Linked DNA regions of Homo sapiens: region 1 is linked to region 2. The links are contacts of gene promoters, found by promoter capture Hi-C in human tissues and cell types (Jung and others, 2019). All regions are on one chromosome and are shown on one strand. The core of a region is centred on a gene start or on the middle of the fragment in contact, and the rest is flanking DNA. Distances in the headings are between cores, read along the strand shown.

Region 1 (4,535 bases), core at 639-3,138, 170 kb after region 2:
GGCCAGCCGCCCCGTCAGGGAGGTGAGGGGCGCCTCTGCCCAGCCATCCCTACTGGGAAGTGAGGAGCCCCTCTGCCCGGCCAGCCGCTCCGTCCGGGAGGGAGGTAGGGGGTCAGCCCCCCGCCCGGCCAGCCGCCCCGTCCGGGAGGGAGGTGGGGGGGGTCAGCCCCCCGCCCGGCCAGCCGCCCCGTCCGGGAGGTGAGGGGCGCCTCTGCCCGGCCACCCCTTCTGGGAAGTGAGGAGCCCCTCTGCCCGGCCACCACCCCGTCTGGGAGGTGTGCCCAACAGCTCATTGAGAACGGGCCATGATGACAATGGCGGTTTTGTGGAATAGAAAGCGGGGAAAGGTGGGGAAAAGATTGAGAAATCGGATGGTTGCCGTGTCTGTGTGGAAAGAAGTAGACATGGGAGACTTTTCATTTTGTTCTGTACTAAGAAAAATTCTTCTGCCTTGGGATCCTGTTGATCTGTGACCTTACCCCCCAACCCTGTGCTCTCTGAAACATGTGCTGTGTCCACTCAGGGTTAAATGGATTAAGGGCGGTGCAAGATGTGCTTTGTTAAACAGATGCTTGAAGGCAGCATGCTCCTTAAGAGTCATCACCACTCCCTAATCTCAAGTACCCAGGGACACAAACACTGCGGAAGGCCTCAGGGTCCTCTGCCTAGGAAAACCAGAGACCTTTGTTCACTTGTTTATCTGCTGACCTTCCCTCCACTATTGTCCTATGACCCTGCCAAATCCCCCTCTGTGAGAAACACCCAAGAATGATCAATTAAAAAAAAAAAAATCCCCTGTTCTCCACCTATGCATTCCTCCCTCCCACCAACCCCTGGTAACCATCGAACTTTTTTACTGTCTCCATAGTTTTGCCTTTTCCAGAATGTGTTATAGTTGGAATCATTCAGGTTGGCTTCTTTCCCTTAGCAATATGCTTTTCAGGTTCTTCCTGAAAAGAGAAAGCCACTATGTCTTCTGGTAGCTTGATTGCTCATTTTTTTAAATTGATGAATACTATTTAATTGTCTGGTTGTATCACCATTTGCTTATCATTCACCTACTGAAAAACATCTTGGTTGCTTTCAGTTTGGTGTAATTATTAATAAAGCTACTATAAATATTTGTGTGCAGGTTTCTGTAAAGACATAGGTTTTCAACTGAATTGGGTTAATATCTAGGAGCACAATTGCTGGATCATATAAGATTATGTTTAACATTGCGAGAAACTTCCAAACTGTCTTCTAAAGTGGTTGTCCCATTTTGCATCCTTACCAGCTGTGAATGTTAATTCCTGTTGCCCCATATCCTCACTAGCATTTGGTGATGTCAGTGTTCTGGATTAAGGCCATTCTAATAGATGTGTAGTGGTATCTTATTTTAATTTGCAATTCTCTTATGGTGTGATGTTGAACATCTTTTCATATGCTTATTTGCCATCTGTGTATCTCCTTTGGTGAGATGTCTGCTCATGTCCTTTGCCCATTTTTAAACTGAGTTGTTTCCTATTGTTAAGTTTTGATGGTTCCTTGCATATTTTGGACACAGGTGCTTGTCTTCTCAGTCACATACAGTGTCTCTTGCAGAACAGAAGTTTTTAATTTTTGTTGTTGTTGTTGTTGTTGAGATGGAGTCTCACTCTGTCAGCCAAGCTAAGGCGCAGTGGCATGATCTTGGCTCACTGCAGCCTCTGCCTCCTGGGTTCAAGTGATTCTCCTGCCTCAGCCTCCCAAGTAGGTGGGACTACAGGCATGCACCACAACATCTGATTACTTTTTGTATTTTTAGTAGGGACGGGGTCTCACCATGTTAACCAGGCTGGTCTCAAACTCCTGACCTCAAGTGATCTGGCCTCCTCGGCCTCCCAAATTGCTGGGATTACAGGTGTGAGCCACTGCTCCCAGCCAGAAGTTTTTAATTTTAATGAAGTCCAACTTAACAATTTTTTTCTTTCATGGATTATGCTTTTGGTGATGTATCTAAAAGCTTACCACCAAGTCTAAGATTACCTAGATTTTCTCCTTTGGTATCCCACAGATGTTTTGTGTTTTGCATTTAGGTCTATGATTCCCTTTGAGTTAATTTTTGTGAGGTTCTGTGTCTAGATTCATTCTTTTGCCTGTGGGTGTCTAGTTGCTCCAGAGCCAATTGTTCAAAAGACTGTCTTTGCTCCATGGAACTGCCTTTGCTCCTTTGTCAAATGTCAGTTGACTCTGTTTGTGTGGACCTATTTCTGGGCTATGTTGAACGCCCGTTTCCTGACATGTAGGGAAATGACAATTTAGATTCCACTTTGCTCTTAAACAGTCTCACTTCAGTAGATATTTAACCCCGTTCTTGTTTGTTTATTGGTTTTGAAGCCCCTCCCTTCTCCCCCCACCATAGAGGCTACACCTGTGTAGTGATTTTGAGTGTGGTGGGAAAAGGTGGTGTGCTTTTTTGTTTTGAACCTTTTAATGAAGCCCAGTGAACATACAGAAAATTGCAGAAATTGAAATTAAATGTTTTTCTCAAACAACACATTTGTGTAACTAACACTCACATGGAGGAATGGCACAGTACCAAGGCCCCAGAAACCCCTTCGCCTCCTTTCCAGCCACTGCCTCCTGCCCTCAGGGCAGCCACGATCCTAATTTCCAACAGCTCAGACTAGTTCTACCTGGGTTTGCTGTTTTTATAAATATAATTACACGGTATATGTATTCTTGTGTCTAGCTTTTCTCAACATTATGTTTGTTGCTTATTTTTATTGCTATAGAGCAGGGCGTCCAATCTTTTGGCTTCCCCGGGCCACAGTCGAAGAAGAAGAATTGTCTGGGGCCACATGTAGAATACACTGATGCTAACAATAGCTGATGAGCTAAAAATAAATTGGAAAGAAAATCTCATAATATTTTAAGAAAGTTGACGAATTTGTGTTGGGCCGCATTCAAAGCCGTCCTGGGCCTCATGCGGCCTGGACAAGCTTGCTGTAGAGTATTGTAGGAGTCAGAAAACTTTATAAAGGGCCAAATAATGAATAGTTTAGGTTTTGCAAGCCACATGTGATCTTTGTCACATTTTCTTCCTCCTCCTCCTCCTCCTCTTCTTGTTCTCTTCTGTGAGGTTCAGAGATTAGTTACAACACTTTGAAAATACAAAAATGATTCTTAACTCTCAAGCTGTACAAAAACAGGCAATGAGCTGTAGCTTGCTAATCCCTAGAGTATTCCATCCTGCAAATATGGTTTATTTATCCACTGTACTCTTGGTGTGAATTTGGGTAGCGTCCCCTTTGGGGCTACTGTGAGTAGAGCTGCTATAAACATTCTGTTGCATGTCTTGTGTGTATTGGCTGTATTACTTGGGATGGGATTACTGGGTCACAGAATGTGCGTATTCCAGCTTTAGAAGGTATTCCAAGCAGTTTTCCAAAATTGTAACACTCTTGTAAGCAGCACATGAACATTCTGGTTGCTCCACGCTCTCACCAGGATTTTCCATCCTTTCCAGTGGGCCAGTTTTGTTGGGTGTATAGTGCTTTTTCATTATGGCTTTAATTTGCATTTCACCTTAATTTCCATTTTTCTAGGTTGAACACTGTTAAAATATGCTTGTTGTCCATTTGGATATCCTTTATGCAAAGACTTTTGCCCATTTTTTAATAACTTGCCTTTTTCTTATAGTTCCAGACTTTTTTTTTGTTTCCCTGAGAGCCTGATGCCAGCAACCATTCCCAGAGCCAATCTCTGTCTTTGTTAAGCAGGGTAGTTAGTCACAAGCAACAGAAACCAGTCTGGTTGGTCCTGTGTTAGTTCAAGGTGAAGGGGGAGATTTATTATAAGGCATTGACTCATGAAATTATGGAGGATGAGAAGTCTCAAGGTGTGTAGTTGGCAAGCTGGAGACCCAAGAGAGCCAATGGTACAGTTCTAGTCTCAGTGCCAACAGGTTTGAGACCCATGAGAGCTGATGTTTCAATTCAAGTCCAAAGGCAGGAAAGAAACAAGTGTTTTTCAAGGCCATCAGGCAGGAGGAACTCCCTACTTACTGATGGTGGGAGGGTTGGCCTTTTTGTTCTCTTCAGGTCTTCAGTTGACTAGATGGCACCCATCCAGGGACCCACCCACAATGGGAGAAAAAATCTGCCCTACTCTGTCTACTGGTTTAAATGTCAACCTCACCAAAAAATACCCTCACAGAAACACCTAGAATAATGTTTGACCAGATGTCTGGATGTTCTGTGGCACAGACACATAAAAACCATCACAAAGCCCAATTCTGGGACTTCAAGAAATAGGAGCAGGCAGATAAAGAGCCGGAGAGGCAGGCTCAAGGTTTGTGTAGCAGGAAAATGCCCATAATTGCTCTGCAGAACTCTGTGCTTGAGCACACGACGCTGCAGGAGCCCCGTGGTGTCACGAGCCCTGCTGGTCCACCTGCTGCGCCGGAAACTGAGTGAAGCTGTCCTGGCCCCCACAACTCTGCCAAACCCGGTTCAACAGGATCCTTGCTTCTCAGCACCACAGCAGGGGAGTGATATTCTAGCATCCTTGGT
Region 2 (4,603 bases), core at 164-2,663:
AACACTCTGGGTATCTATACTTTCATATTTTTGAGTTCTAAATTAATGACCTAAACATAGACATGGAAGCCATTCCCCTGGGTAAGTGAAGATGAAATGAAGGAAAGTCATTTTAATTTGAATGCCAATTTAGCTTTCAATTCAGCAGACATTTGTCACTCTAGTATCAATATTTAAAATACTGGGTCACTGTAATTATTCACCAAAATCCTGTTTACCTTGTTAATTACCAGCAATTTTTTAAAATGATGGCACTTTATGGAAACTGAATATACGTCATCTTTAAAAAGAGCTTTTAAAATCCCTCCTTTGGAAGTAATGCAGGTTAATAGATTAGACATTTTATGAAGAGGGCTGCATGATTTTTCTACTGCATTTCTGGTGTTGCAAACTTTGGTGAAATTATTAACTGCTATTCATTTTTTCCAACTTTTAGTTGTCTCTAGCTAGATGTTGATCATTATTACACATCTGTAAAGAAAAGAGCAAACCAACTTGAATTAGTGTTTCTTGAACTATTCATTAGAATTTAAAATTTTTTCCTAAAAGTTTTTCAATTTAGTGATCCTATTGGTAAATAAAAAGAATAAAGGCATGCAAATTAAAATAAAGGTAACATTTCTATTAGATGTTTTTAAACCCCTTTCCTTTGTGACCTAGCTTTTCTATCTTGGCTTTTCTATCTTTTCTTCTCTTCCTTTCCTTTCCTCCTTTCTTTTTCTTAAGTTTGTTTATGCCTCAGTCATCTGGTCGCACGTGGCTATGTTCCACTGTGGCAGGGCTTAGCTGGCAGTTTCAGGGATATCTTAGTTTTAATAAGTATTGTGGATTTCCTCACATCTAGGGTGGAGAGAGATTGGTTATAGGGTGATAAAAACAGAAGAATCTGTGTTGAAGGAGATGGGAAGATTTTAAGAATGCTAACGAATTTGAGCAGGGCATAAAACCAACCCATGAACAGGGCTACAGTCCTCTCAGGGTTGCCTGAAGCCTCAGCCCTGGAGGACGTCTGACACCTTACAGGTAGAGGACCTCTGTGCAGGAGCCCTCAACACCCAGGGAGGATTAGGATATAAGCGCAAACTCAAAGGTACTGTAATGGGCACCTAGCAATCAGAGGTGATACAAGGGTCTCTTGGCCCGAAGTATCCCCACCTCTCCTCGCTGGAAAGGACGCTGCCTAAGCCTCATCCCGAGCTGGGGGCGGAGGACCAAGGGTGAGAGCCACCGCCTCCGCAATCCCCCGCCCCTCGGCACCGTCGCTCAGCGCGCTCGCCGGCTCCCTATTGGCCGAGGCACTCGCCAATCCTGGTGAAGCGGCCCCGTGAGTTGGCCCTGGTTGGTGGAGCCGGCACTGAGCCCCCCTCCTGCTCCGGCCGAGCCCCCCCGCCGGGAGGGGGCGTGGCCGCGGCCGTGGACGGGCCGGAGGCGGCGTCGCTCGCGCCGCTGCGTGCGGTGTGGTGCGAGGCGGGTGCGCCGGGCGGCCGCGGCGCGGCGGGACCATGGAGCTCAGAGCGCAGCCCCGGCGCCGGCGGCGGGACCGCGGACCGGTGAGTGAGGGCTGCGGTCGCCCCGGCTCTCCGCTGTAGGCTGCTGTGGCCCTCTCGGCTCCGGGCCGGGCGGCTGTCGGGGGAGGGGCGGCCCCACGGCGAACTGAAGTTGCTGCATCGCCGCGCGCTCCGGCCGGGCGGCGGGGCCCACTGCGGGCTGCGGCGCCGCCTCGCGCCTATCCCTGCAGCCCGGCCGCATTCTCCCGGCCGGCTCCCGCGCTGGCAGGGGCTTCTCGCCGTCACGGCGCGGCCAGGCGGCCCTTCTCTCCCGCGCCTCCGGGCCTCCGGCCCTTTGCCGTCCGGTGCGCGCTCCCTGGACTCGGGACAGCCACCCGCCCTCCCCGCCGTAAGTGGCGCCCGGGCCTCCGCTCGCGCCCCACGCACGACGCCCCGGGCCGCTCCGCGTCCGGGACCTTCGCATCCGTTCAGTGTCTGCGCGCCCTCGCTGGTTCTGGTCCAGCTCCGCGTGCCCCCCGGCCCCATTCGGCCCTCGCCGCCCTGGCCTGTGCCCTCTTGGTGCCCGCGTGCGTGTTGGTTGCGGGCGTCCTCTCCCTCGAGGCTGCGGTGCCGCGTGGCTCCCGGCCTCGGAGACCAGGCCGGACTCTTGGAGTGCAGGGGAGGAGGTGGGGCGGCCCGCGAGTGCGGGGGACCGCGCGCACGGAGCCGCGGCGCGCGGGGTATCATCCCCGGGGGTCTTTACCCGCGCGCCTGGGCTTTAGCGAGGGCAGAAGCTTCCTCTCAGTTTGTGGTGCTGACGTGCAATGGCGATTGCTTCTTGATTTGGCCCCTCTGCAAGGGAGAGTTCCCTGGTGGAGACGAGAGTTCTTAATTATTCAGAAACTATGTGATGGGCTTAGGGATCAATGGGAGCATCATAGGAATTCTTTCTCATTTTAAGGTTAATTTTTAAATTAGCGGTTTACTTCCAGCAACAGTCTCGAGTTTTCAAAAACTGAAAATTAAAAAGACTACTTTTCGCAGTTCTTCAAATTAAATGCATAGCAGAACATGGTATTTTAAGATTCAGAGTCTACTTTTTATAAGGGGGAGAGGATAGCTATTTGAAATATTTTGCATCTTAAAAATTAGGTTTATCTAAAGCTTAAAATGCGACTCTATCAAAACTAAGTTCAAAGTATTGTAATTGACTAATCTTTCTATTGTCTCTAGGGCAAATTCTATTGCTTCTTTTTATATGTGCTTTACCCAACTCTCCTTTTCTAGCAGTTAAACAATGCAGTGGTTCTTTAAAGCTAGTTCTTTTATCTGCTTGAGAGGTTAAACAAACGAAAGCTGGGTTTGACCTTTCCCAAAGGCATTCTCATTGTGTCCTCTCCAGCTCCCTTCTCCCAGGGTTCTAATGACTTCAGTGTAGTACTCATTTTTCTTCATCTTGAAAGATTTTCTTAGTTGGTATTCACAAAAGCTGTGTCTTTTCACATGTTTAAATATTGGAAAGTTTGGTCAACTATTATATTTACCTTCCAACCTGTGCTTATTCTAGAACTATGTACATATAGAAATTGTTCTTGCATTTCCAGTTGGCTGACATGAAGTTGCTTAATAGCATTTGTTTTTAAAAAATCTGTTTGCTTTAAAATTTACAACCTAATAGTCAATGATGTGCTTCACTATCTTCAACAATTACGAAAACAAAGGTGGAACACACTTTGCTAAGTGGTCATGCCAACATTGTAACCTCCTATCTCTTGTCAGTGTGTCTTTGTAGTCACACGTTACGGTTCCCATAGAAACCTATGTATGGCAGGTAACCTTTTGGTTATTGGGATGTTTTGATTAAAACAATTGCGTTATAATGCAAGTATTAAATGAATTGTCCCTACTCACGGGCTAGTACTAGTGATCGTCTTTGGAATTCCAAGGACTTTCTTTGAAGAGTACTCCCAGATTGTTTTTCACTTTGGGTGGCTCTCCATTGCTGTAGACCTTGAATCTCTTTTTCTTTTCTTTTCTTTCTTTCTTTCTTTCTTTTTTTTTTTTTTTTTTTTTTTTTTGAGACGGAGTCTTGCTCTTGTCTCCCAGACTGGAGTGCAGTGGTGTGATCTCGGCTCACTGCAACCTCCGCCTCCTGGGTTCAAGCGATTCTCCTGCCTCAGACTCCCGAGTAGCTGGGAGTACAGGCGCCCGCCACCATGCCCGGCTAATTTTTGTACTTTTAGTAGAGATGCAGTTTCACCATGTTGGACAGATTGGTCTCGAACTCCTGACCTCAGGTTGATCCGCCCACCTCGGCCTCCCAAAATGCTGGGATTACAGGCGTGAGCCACCGCTCCCGGCCGAATCTCTCAACTTCTCTTCTCAGTCCGTTTTAAGGGCCCTGTTTCTTTCAAGTCAGGCTTTTTTTGGCTTTGCTCTTGGGCATGTGGAACTAAATGCTTCTGACAGCCCCACACATTCTTCTTCAGGGCTGGTTCTTTACCTGTGGCTTGACTTTATGCTGGTAATACAGAAATATTTTATGCCAGTAATACATAAATGATGTACATTATAAAATAAACAATATCAACACAGAGATTTATAGAGGTAAAAAGTCTTAAGTTTTCTTTTTCCCGTCTTATTGTTGTCCTATTCCTATTTCTTTCTTCAGAGGTAACCATAATATAGGGTGTATCCTTCTGGATTTTTTCCATTTAATACTGTAGATGAAATATATAACCCTGTATGTTAAAAAAACCATTTCATGAATGCCTACTAGGTACCAGGTACTATTTTAATCACTAGGGTTGCAAAAATAAGAGACAGACGCTTTCAAGATGTTCATAGTCTACCAGGACAAGCAATTACAGTGCAGTGTGATAAGTACCATGATAGAGTCAGTAATCAGTGAGGGATGTAGGAGCCTCATGCATGACCTAATCCATTCATTCATTTGCTTTATTCATTCAGTACACTTCAGAGTTTTAATATGTGCCGGGGATACAGAGATAAACAAGACAGATACCTCTGTCAGCCCCCGATGAGCTTGCTGTGCAGTTCAGTCTCAAAGAGTTTTAACCGTTGGTTACAATGTATTGTTTGATATGGGATCTGAA

What was found. The method cuts DNA at HindIII sites, captures the fragments that hold promoters and counts their contacts. A contact is called where the count stands out against the background at its distance.
Region 1: a fragment that was not itself captured here is called in contact with the fragment with the promoter of WASF3 in region 2 in 2 of the 25 tissues and cell types used here (aorta and dorsolateral prefrontal cortex).

What each region holds. Positions count from the first base shown.
Region 1 is chr13:26,724,037-26,728,571 of GRCh38, forward strand. No RefSeq gene overlaps it. Among named protein-coding and RNA genes, the nearest start is that of GPR12, 34 kb to the right of the region's middle. The HindIII fragment of the contact is 4,497 bases long and covers 1-4,137 here.
Region 2 is chr13:26,556,270-26,560,872 of GRCh38, forward strand. WASF3 (WASP family member 3) reads left to right here and starts at 1,414. Exons shown (of 10, transcript NM_006646.6): 1 at 1,414-1,550. RefSeq lists silencers at 988-1,047, 1,308-1,517. The HindIII fragment of the contact is 5,812 bases long and covers 1-2,466 here.